3 separate regions of the Homo sapiens genome follow, and all the other regions are linked to region 2. The links are contacts of gene promoters, found by promoter capture Hi-C in blood cells and fetal thymus (Javierre and others, 2016). All regions are on one chromosome and are shown on one strand. Each heading gives the region's core, a stretch centred on a gene start or on the middle of the fragment in contact. The rest is flanking DNA. Distances are from core to core; before and after follow the strand shown.

What was found. Contacts are between HindIII fragments. The CHiCAGO score rates a contact against its expected background, and 5 or more counts as called.
Region 1: a contact is called between a fragment that was not itself captured here and the fragment with the promoter of ELOVL7 in region 2, in 1 of 17 cell types (megakaryocytes). The highest score is 8.2, in megakaryocytes.
Region 3: a contact is called between a fragment that was not itself captured here and the fragment with the promoter of ELOVL7 in region 2, in 1 of 17 cell types (megakaryocytes). The highest score is 6.4, in megakaryocytes.

The regions. Positions count from the first base shown.
Region 1 is chr5:60,765,422-60,768,711 of GRCh38, reverse strand. It overlaps ELOVL7 (ELOVL fatty acid elongase 7), which reads left to right. Exons shown (of 9, transcript NM_024930.3): 5 at 809-889; 6 at 2,082-2,138. Among named protein-coding and RNA genes, the nearest start is that of DEPDC1B, 67 kb to the right of the region's middle. The HindIII fragment of the contact is 1,390 bases long and covers 645-2,034 here.
Region 2 is chr5:60,842,721-60,845,750 of GRCh38, reverse strand. ELOVL7 (ELOVL fatty acid elongase 7) reads left to right here and starts at 1,482. Exons shown (of 9, transcript NM_024930.3): 1 at 1,482-1,591. RefSeq lists silencers at 1,261-1,560, 1,581-1,740, 1,751-1,810. The HindIII fragment of the contact is 2,652 bases long and covers 256-2,907 here.
Region 3 is chr5:60,750,037-60,753,003 of GRCh38, reverse strand. ELOVL7 (ELOVL fatty acid elongase 7) reads left to right here. Exons shown (of 9, transcript NM_024930.3): 9 at 1-1,213. Among named protein-coding and RNA genes, the nearest start is that of DEPDC1B, 51 kb to the right of the region's middle. The HindIII fragment of the contact is 6,191 bases long and covers 1-2,967 here.

The DNA of each region.
Region 1 (3,290 bases), core at 90-2,589, 77 kb after region 2:
CCCTTGGCTTTTCCTTTTCAGATACTGTTTTAAAAGAAGACCTTCCCACCATCAGACTGAAAGAATGTCAGTATAATCTTTATAATCTTTGAATTACACTTCAGATTTATCAACAATAGGCTCTTTCTTGTCACATCAGCCTTGGATCACTTTGTGGGTGTGTTGGAATTAAGGCCTGCCAGATTGCACTTTTATTGTTAACGAGCATTTTCCTCTTTTACTTGTCTTGTGAATCCACAGTAAAACTATTAATAATATCTGAGCCATGGACTACCACCTCACATCACACTCACCAGCCAATGATGGGAAAAGCCCAGTTGTCGCAGCTATCTTATGAGTACATTGAGGCATTTTGGTTTGCATGTTTAGTTATTGACTAAGTAGAAAGACTGGAAATTGCTAGAAATGACTGATTCAGATCCAAGTGTTCCCTTTAAGAGTACACAAACACATTCACTCACACATACATAGATGAACCTAAGATAAGTCACCTACCAGTATTTGCTGTTTAAGCAAAACACTCCAAGTGTTTTATTCTTCACCATATTAGAATAATCATCCCAAGAGATGAGCATTTTAGTCAGAGCACAGTTTATATAAATAATATATGAGTTTGTGGTTTTGAAAATTCTTGATATCAAGCTTTGATATCAAGCATGTTCATTTTGTATTTGTTCCAGCTACCTTTTCCTCTGCACTGACTATTGACTTAGCTGAAAATGTAATGAAGAGACACTATCAAAACTACCTTTGTTGTGGCTGTTGGGAAAATGCTTTCCTTTCTTAATATGCATGTGCTCTCTTGCAGTTTGTGATGTCTGGCTGGGGTATAGGTTATTCATTTCGATGTGACATTGTTGACTATTCACGGTCACCCACAGCTTTGAGGGTAAGTTTCTCTTTGGAAAAACTTGAAATTCAAAATCAATGTTAAAATTTTGTGAACTGTTTGTAACACTGAACGTAAACTTAGAATAAGCAGATGACTCAGTTATCAGATTGTGTGTGTTGTGGTGGAGAAAGTGAACAATTACAAGAATAAAAAAAATCACATGTATAATTTTCTATAAAATGAAAATTGGTGCTTTTCTTTTTTAATTTCTTGGATTTAAAAATAAATTCACATGTGGTTCCTCAAAAAATTGAAAATAGAATTACCATAAGATCCAGCAATTCTGCTTCTGGGTATATACCTAAAAGAATTGAAAACAGAGACTTGAAGAGATGTTTGTATACTCATGTTTACAGCAGCATTATTTATAACAGCCAAAAGGTAGAAGCAACCCAAGAGTCCATGGATAGATAAATGGATAAACAAGGCCAGGTGCAGTGGCTTACGCTTGTAATCCTAGCGCTTTGGGAGGCTGAGGCGGGTGGATTGCCTGGGCTCAGGAGTTTGAGACCAGCCCGGGCAACACGGTGAAACCCCATCTCTACTAAAATACAAAACTTAGCAGGGCATGGCAGCATGGGCCTGTAGTCCCAGCTACTCGGGAGGGTGAGGCAGGAAAATCGCTTGAACCCAGAAGGTGGAGGTTGCAGTGAACCGAGATTGCACCATTGCACTCCAACCTAGATGACAGAGTGAGACTCCATCTCAAAAAAAGAAAAAGATAAATGGATAAACAAAATGTGGCATATGTATAGAATGGAATATGATTCAGCCTTTAAAAGGAAGGGAATTCTAACTCATGCTACAACAGGGATGAACCCTGAGAACACTATGCTAAGTGAAATAATTAGGTCACAAAAGGACATATACTGCATGATTTGGCTTATATGAGGTGCCTAGCATAGTCAAATTCATAGACACAGAAAGCAGAATTGTAGCTGGGGTTAGAGAGGGAGAATGGGATGTAGTTTAGTGGGTGTAGCTTCAATTTTGCAAGATGAAAAAAGTTCTATGGATGGATGGTGGTAATGGTTGAACAACAGTGTGAAGGTACTTAATGCCACTTAACTGTGCACTAAGAAATGGTTGACATGACAGATTTTATGGTATGCATATTTTACCAAAATTTAAAAATATAAGCTTTTCTTCCATATACAAAATAAATTTAGATTTATTTGTGCTTCTGCAGATGGCACGTACCTGCTGGCTTTATTACTTCTCCAAATTTATTGAGCTATTAGATACGGTGAGTATATGGCCACCACATTTGGTAAATGTTTGATCTTAAATGTTTGATCTTAAATGTTTGATCTTTCAGTGAAACCAATAAACTGCTGTAGTTTCAGTTGTCTGATAACTTTGGTTATTTCTCCTATTCAGGCAGACCTACTGTTATCTTTTTTACCTTTTATTATCAGTAACTTTAGAGAATAGATAGGATAACCTTATTTTTTCAGTATTTTGCAAACTCTATAAAGTTTCTGTTACATAGCTATCAGTTGATTATGATAAGCATGGTGACTGTGTCATATACTCCAAAACTGCATCTTTATATAGATGGATGACAGTTGTTTTATGAATCAAGTTCAGGAAGTAAAAAGCAGAAAACATCTTACCTTTGTTTGTTTGTTTTTTTATCCCAAAGCACAGTCATCCATATTCCTTTAGGAGGATGAATAAACTTTCACGAGAATGTTGCATTACCCCTGGGCTGTCGGTAATTCAGCTGCTTTTCTGAAGTCTGTGCTTACTGGGCCCTATCTCTTCCTACTTCAGATCCTAGTGAGGATCGCCTCTGAACTTGGATGACCGGGTCTTGGGAGAAGCACGTGTCACAAATTAGCGTCTGTGATTTAGAGGAGAAAGCCATGAACCTTTGTTTCCAGAGGAGCTTAGGAAAGCTGAATATTTGTTGTATCTTTGCAGCAAGTGTATCTTAGTTATTTGGAGCTAGTTTTGGCTCAGACTGAAAAGTGTGTTTTCTTTGGAATGCATACCATGATATTTCTTGTAGGAAATCTCAATATGCTTCACCTTTTGAAATGACTAATCACATAATGTTAGAATTGGAAAGGACTTGTGTGAACATACAATCCAGTGGTTCTCGAACTTTAACATGCATTTAGAATCACCTGAGACTTGTTAAAACACAGCTGCCTCGACCCCCACCCCCAGAGTTTCTGATTCACTAGGCCTTGGATGGGGCTCAAAATTTGCATTTCTAACAAGTTCTCAGATGATGCTAATACTTATTGGTCCAGGGACCATGTTTTGAGAGCCTGTATTCTGGTGGTTCCAGCCCACATTGTGCAATAGAATTAATTGCATTAGGGAAAACAACGACGACAAAAACAAGCCCTACCTCCAGAGATTTGGTGCCATATGGTCTGGAACAGAG
Region 2 (3,030 bases), core at 233-2,732:
GAACATAGCAGCACTCCAGTATTTGTTAAATAAATGAATCCATTTGAGCTTCTGCATATTTGAAATTTCATAAGTATATATAAATGGTAAATTGTGATAGACTCAAAGGCTAGTATCATTAGGCAATTGTCTCCCGTTCCCAAAAGACTTCCTAAGTCTACTAAATGATCTGTTTTTAATATGAAAGCAAAGTTATCTAAAAGAAAGGAGAAATCTTTAGTTTTTTTGACTTCGAGATTCTTTGCAATTTAAGCTTTTTTTTTTTTTTTTTTTTTTTTTTTTGCTTTTCTTTCAATGGACACTTTCGAAGTTTTACATAAAAACATTAAAACCTCTTGTTTAATGTAGTGGGATTAAGCTGCCGAAGGCAATCCCTACATGTGAGGAAAATATGCTTCCGACACCCCAATTTTTTTTTTCTCCCTACCCATCCTCTCTGGTGGTCCTGACGCTCCCAGCCCCTTTTTGTGTTTCTTGATTCCATGCTGAGAACTCGCAATACAAACTCAAAGCCCACATTTGTGAGGTGGTTGGGTCAGGACTGCAACTAAAAATGATTATTGTTTTTTAGGTTTCTGGACAGTTCAACACCAGCCTTTGGTTTTGCCTCAGAAGCAGGGAACTTCTCTAGGCCCCTATTTTGCCTTTCAGCTATTGATGATCCAAATCATACCAGCGATTAGGAGGATCATTACCAGACACAAGGCCAGGTACGTTTAAAAAATAAATAAACCAAGCGCAGGTGCACACTCCGAACGCTCATCCCCACCCCCACTTTCCAATCCAACAGTAGGTAACGAGAAATGAATTTTCTAGACTTTTTTTCCTGCAGCAGTTGCTGTTACCAGAAACAAAGTTAGATGATATACAATCTAATCTTCATTGCTCTAAAAGTCCTCTCCCCATGCCCCCCAGGCTGCCTCAATTCTCTAGTTTCTTATTCCTTATAAGCAGGGGATGGAGCTGAACCAAGTCGGCCTTCCCCTCCCAGGGCCTTCTCCTCTTGGTCTGGCTTCCATTTCAGATGCGAATTAACCCTCCCAATACCCTTTCAGAAGCAAGGAGTCCCCTTTTTCTCCGCCTCCAGCCTCAGCTAGGTTTTCCTCATTTCGGATTTTTCTACTGCTCATTCCCAAATGAGTCACGCATGACGACAATTTCCACTCTGCTATGTCAGCCTGGAGATGTCCCCCAAGTGATGGCATCTGCTCTCGGAAAGAAAGGTCATCGGTGCCACGACCAGCCCCGCTAACCCAGAGCGGCCGGTGGGCCCCAGTCCCGAGAGTCAGGGCGCGCGGCGGAGGCGAGGCCGGGGCGGCCTCCGCCCTCCCGGCCGCTCCCCCTCGCGCCGCCCCGGCTCCTCCCTCCGGCCCTCGGCGGGCACCTGGCGGCGGCGGGCAGGGGGCGGCGCTGCGCGCGTCACGCGGCTGGGTGGGATAGCGGGCAGGTGACACCCGGCGGCCTCCTCCCCTTTCCAACCCAGTCGGCGGCCGGGACAGCGGGGGCCGCTGTGAGGAGCTCCGCGCTCGCGCTGCCAGTCGCCGCCCTCTCTCCCGCGCGCGCCCGGCGCTTCGGCTCCGCTCCCTGTGCGGTGAGTGCGGGGTTCCAGGCCGGCGGGCAGGGGCCAAACTTTCCCGGCGCGCGGAGGAGAAGAGACTGGGGAGGGAGGCAGAGCCGAGGGGAACGGCGTCGGGAGTGGCCGGATGGAGGAACTTGGGCGCGGCGCGCGAGAAGTGGGACCCGGGTGCGGGGGCCCCGGGAGCGGGGCCAGGCCCTCCCTGGGCTCGGGAGGCGCTTGGGAAGTTCTGTCCCCGCTGCCTGCGCGTGGGGAGGACCGAGGCCCTTTTCGCCGGAGCGCGGGGCCGCGGCGCTCACCTGCGCCTTCTCGGGAGCCCCCACCCGGCAGCATCCCGAAGGGAAGGTCGGGCCCGGTGGGCGCGCTGCGGAGCGGAGCCTGGACTGGGGTCCCGCGCGGCGCTGGCCCTGCGGAGCGGAGCGGGAGGGGCAGAGGTGCTCGCCGGCGGGACTGGGAGGGAGAAGGACCTGCTCGACCTTGGACGCGGAGGTCATTTTCCCAGCTCCGGGGTCTGGCCTCGCTAGCCACCCCCCCAAATTCCGGAGCCCCTTTCTTTCTGTTTCCTTCCTTCCCCTTTGGGCGCTTTTTTTGCTCCCGCGGCCAGATGAACTTGGGGCGCTGTCCCTTCGGCTCCCCGAGCCGCATCCTGTCTTGGTGGCTGCTGCTGGCCGGGAGGAGGCTGATGAATACAGAGCCGTGGAACAGGTCGTGCCGGAGATGGAAACAGGAAAGCCTGTTGTTTTGTCGTCCCAGGTATCGTTGGTTCTTTGGGAAATGGGCTTTCCCAGGTTCGTTGGGAAATGGGCTTTCCCAGGTTCGTTGGGAAATGGGCTTTCCCCCTTCAAGTCAGAGCTGTTTCAAACTTCACCCGGTGCGGACAGAGCGCTCTTTGGAGCTCCCTGGGGAACTCGGGACGGGAAGGAGCGGGTCTTTACACCTGTCCTGCTCCCAGTGTAGTTAGTCCCGCGTCGACTGAAGAACAGTTTTAGCGACCCGAGTTCCTCGCCAGTGGTCTTTTCCCTCTTGCTACGATCTCCCCTCGGAAAGCATGTTCACTTAACCCTGTGCTCTCGGATTACCCTTTATTTCATTCCTCACTTTTATTGCTTACGTGCTCCGAAAGGGTCATCGATACCTGGTGGCTGCCTCTGCGTTCTTACCACGCACCCGCTTATTCATTCCCTTTCTTTGTAGTTTCTCTTCGTACTACTGATCAGAAATTGGTCTCCCCAAGGTCACCGAGAACTAAATAAAATCCACCCCTCACCCCGTGGCAGACATTTATCAGTGCTTAGGTGCCAGGCACTGATGTCAGTTCTTGTGTAAAAGCTTTTAATCTTCACAACGATCCTGGGAAGTAGATATTAATATTATTCTCATTTTAATGATGAGGTAACTGAGGCACGGAGAGGTTAAGTAACTTGCCCAAGGCCACACCCATCTCAGCGGTAGGA
Region 3 (2,967 bases), core at 384-2,883, 93 kb after region 2:
GTAAAGGTTGATAAATGGGAGTAATTACATATATATATATAATTTATTATTTTTTTTTCTGAAGCAGAGTTTTACTCTTGTTGCCCAGGCTAGAGTGCAATGGCACAATCTCGGTTCACTGCAACCTCTGCCTCCCAGGTTCAAGTGATTCTCCTGTCTCAGCCTCCCAAGTAGCTGGGATTACAGGTGCCCGCCACCATGCTCAGCTAATTTTTGTATTTTTAGTAGAGACAGGGTTGGCCAGGCTGGTCTCGAGCTCCTGACCTCAGGTGATCCTCCCACCTCGGCCTCCCAAAGTTCTGGGATTACAGGGGTGAGCCACTGTGCCCGGCCATAATTTTATATTTTTAGAAAATAAAGAATGAAGGACAAAAGAGCACAGCTAAATGAAACTGCTGCTCTAATTTATTCCACTGGAAAGGTCTCAGGACTCCTTAACTGTTTTCCAGGTTTGGCTCTTCATATCTAACCTGTGCTAAAATGAGAAGGTATGCTAGGTGCTGTTAGAAATCACACCATTTCCAAAGAACCCAAGTAGTATAGAGACCAAAATGAGGCAAAAATAAAAGAGATGAAACAGGAGAGTTTATTTCTTGCATACTTTCCGACCTTCATCATACAACCTCTCCTAACCTCCCTGTAGTCTTTAAAATGTTTAACTTGCCTATAAGCTAACATGTAATAAAACACATACTCAATTATATGAATAGAAGTGGAGAGCCAGAATGCTACAAAAGAAATCACAGCTGCTAGAAGTATCCTCCATAGAAACATCAACATGATTGTGGATCAAAATGATTTTCACTGGATATGGAATTTGTATGGGCCATATTTATTAAAAGAGTTCTGTGTGGTCACATAGAGTTCCTTTGGGATTTCATCCCACTTTTCAGGACTTAATTTGTTTGGGTTTGCTTACCTAACAAGCAACAACAACAACAAAATAAATAGTTCCAAAATCTAGTTTATTACATAAATCTCTATGAATCCTTGAGGGCCTATATCTATATTATAAATAAATACAAATATAGATTTTTAAATATCTATGGGACTTTGCCATTTACAGCCTTAAGTATAAAATTACGAGATTATATTCTTTCCATTACCCTTTATTTCTGCTAACTTTTTAAAGACTGGAACATTCTGTGGATGTTGTCAAAGTTTGAGTTTGTTTTTCCCTGTGTATTATAATAAATTTGTGGTATTGCATGTATACGTGTGTATATTTTTCATTTTGGAATCTAGCTGCATGTATTTGCATGGGTTGGTGACTTTTAATTTGAATACTCACCAATCAAAGTTATTTTACATATTTCTTGTATACGTGCTGTGTTCATCTTTGGGATACAAAGATACTTAGAACATAATTGGGATCTCCTGGAGCTTACCAACTGGCAGATGAAATTATGTGACAGGGCAGTAGATGATAGGTGCCAGATGAGTGACAGTTCTGCCACTTAGCAGACAGGGAAGACTCTATGAAGGAATTTGAATTTGAGTTATGTGTTTAGGTTGTACAGAATTTCAAAATTGGTGGTATGTTAGTAGGCAAGGTTTTTTAAGTGGAAAGAATTAACAAAAAAGAATATTTTGCCATCCCCACTGTCTCTAATAAATGGGACTAGCTAATGATCACTGGTTGCTAAAACAATTAGATGAAAGGTTGATGGGGATGGCTTGTGCTGATATGACTGAACCCAGTGATCAATCTTAATATCATTCAAAGTGGGACAACCAGATGTTTTGTCTCATAATACACTATAATACTCTGAGGTATTCGTGGCAAAAAAATTTTTGAACTTGAATCTAATAAATCCTCTGTATCTAAACTACTAGTTACAGGAAATACAATATATAAGAGTTAAAAGACACAAAAAGGATACCATCAGCCAAGTCCAAAATGTAGGAAATTCCATAGAACAAATGACCTGGTTTCTTCAATAAATAAATGACATTAAAAAAAAAAAAAGAAAACCAGAGAAGGCAACTTTTGTAGATGAAAGACTTAAGATATACTAACCAAATGTCATTTGAATCCTGATTTGAACAAACCAAATCATAAAAGGACATTCTTATAACAATCAGATATAACTGAACATGAACTAAATTTTAAAAGACAAACTATTAATATTAGATATTATTACTGTATTGCAGATGTATATATTTTAAAGTCCTTATATGTGAGATACATACACTGAAGTATGTATATGTAAAATGATAGGTTGTCTGATTTCGTTTTAACATACTCTAGTAAAAAGAAAAGGGGGTGTTGATAATTGTTAAAGTTGGGTAATGGGTTCACTTAATAAGAGTTTATTATACTCTTCTGTCTACGTTTGTGTATGTTTGAAATTGTCCAGTTTTTAAAAAGCAATGTATGTATTATAATGTTCTGTATAGATGTTATTTAAGTTAGGAACCAAAATGACAGAATTGACATGATTTTCACTGGTAGTCAGTCAGTATTGAGGGTGCTTACTGCATCTAAGTGTCATGAGAAACTTTAAAATGTACTGGATGTGGTCCCTGCCCTTAAAAAATTTACAGTACAGTTTAAAAAGACAGGCCTACATCAAATTTTAATAAAAACAAAAGTGGCATACCTGTTGACAAGTGAAAAGTGTATTACAGATTTGCAATATATATTATCCTAAAATTAAGTAGTTACCTTTGATGAAACAAAATATAATGTTCACCAGGACCCACTGAAGATGTTTGATGGAGGAGTAACATGATCAGCCTGGTTATGAGAGCCTCTGGAAAAGAATCCCTTCCATGGAGCCCGAGGCTCCCTGTCACCAGCATTTTCCAGTATTTCCTTCTTGTAGGAAGCAGTTGGGTGTAATAGACTGTAGTTATTGTCTGTCATTCCAAAGCATCATGCCATGTAGCTAAGTACTCTGGGGAAGGGCAGGGATACAGAGAAAATCTGCATATACCATATACCACCAGGGAAGAAGATGTCTT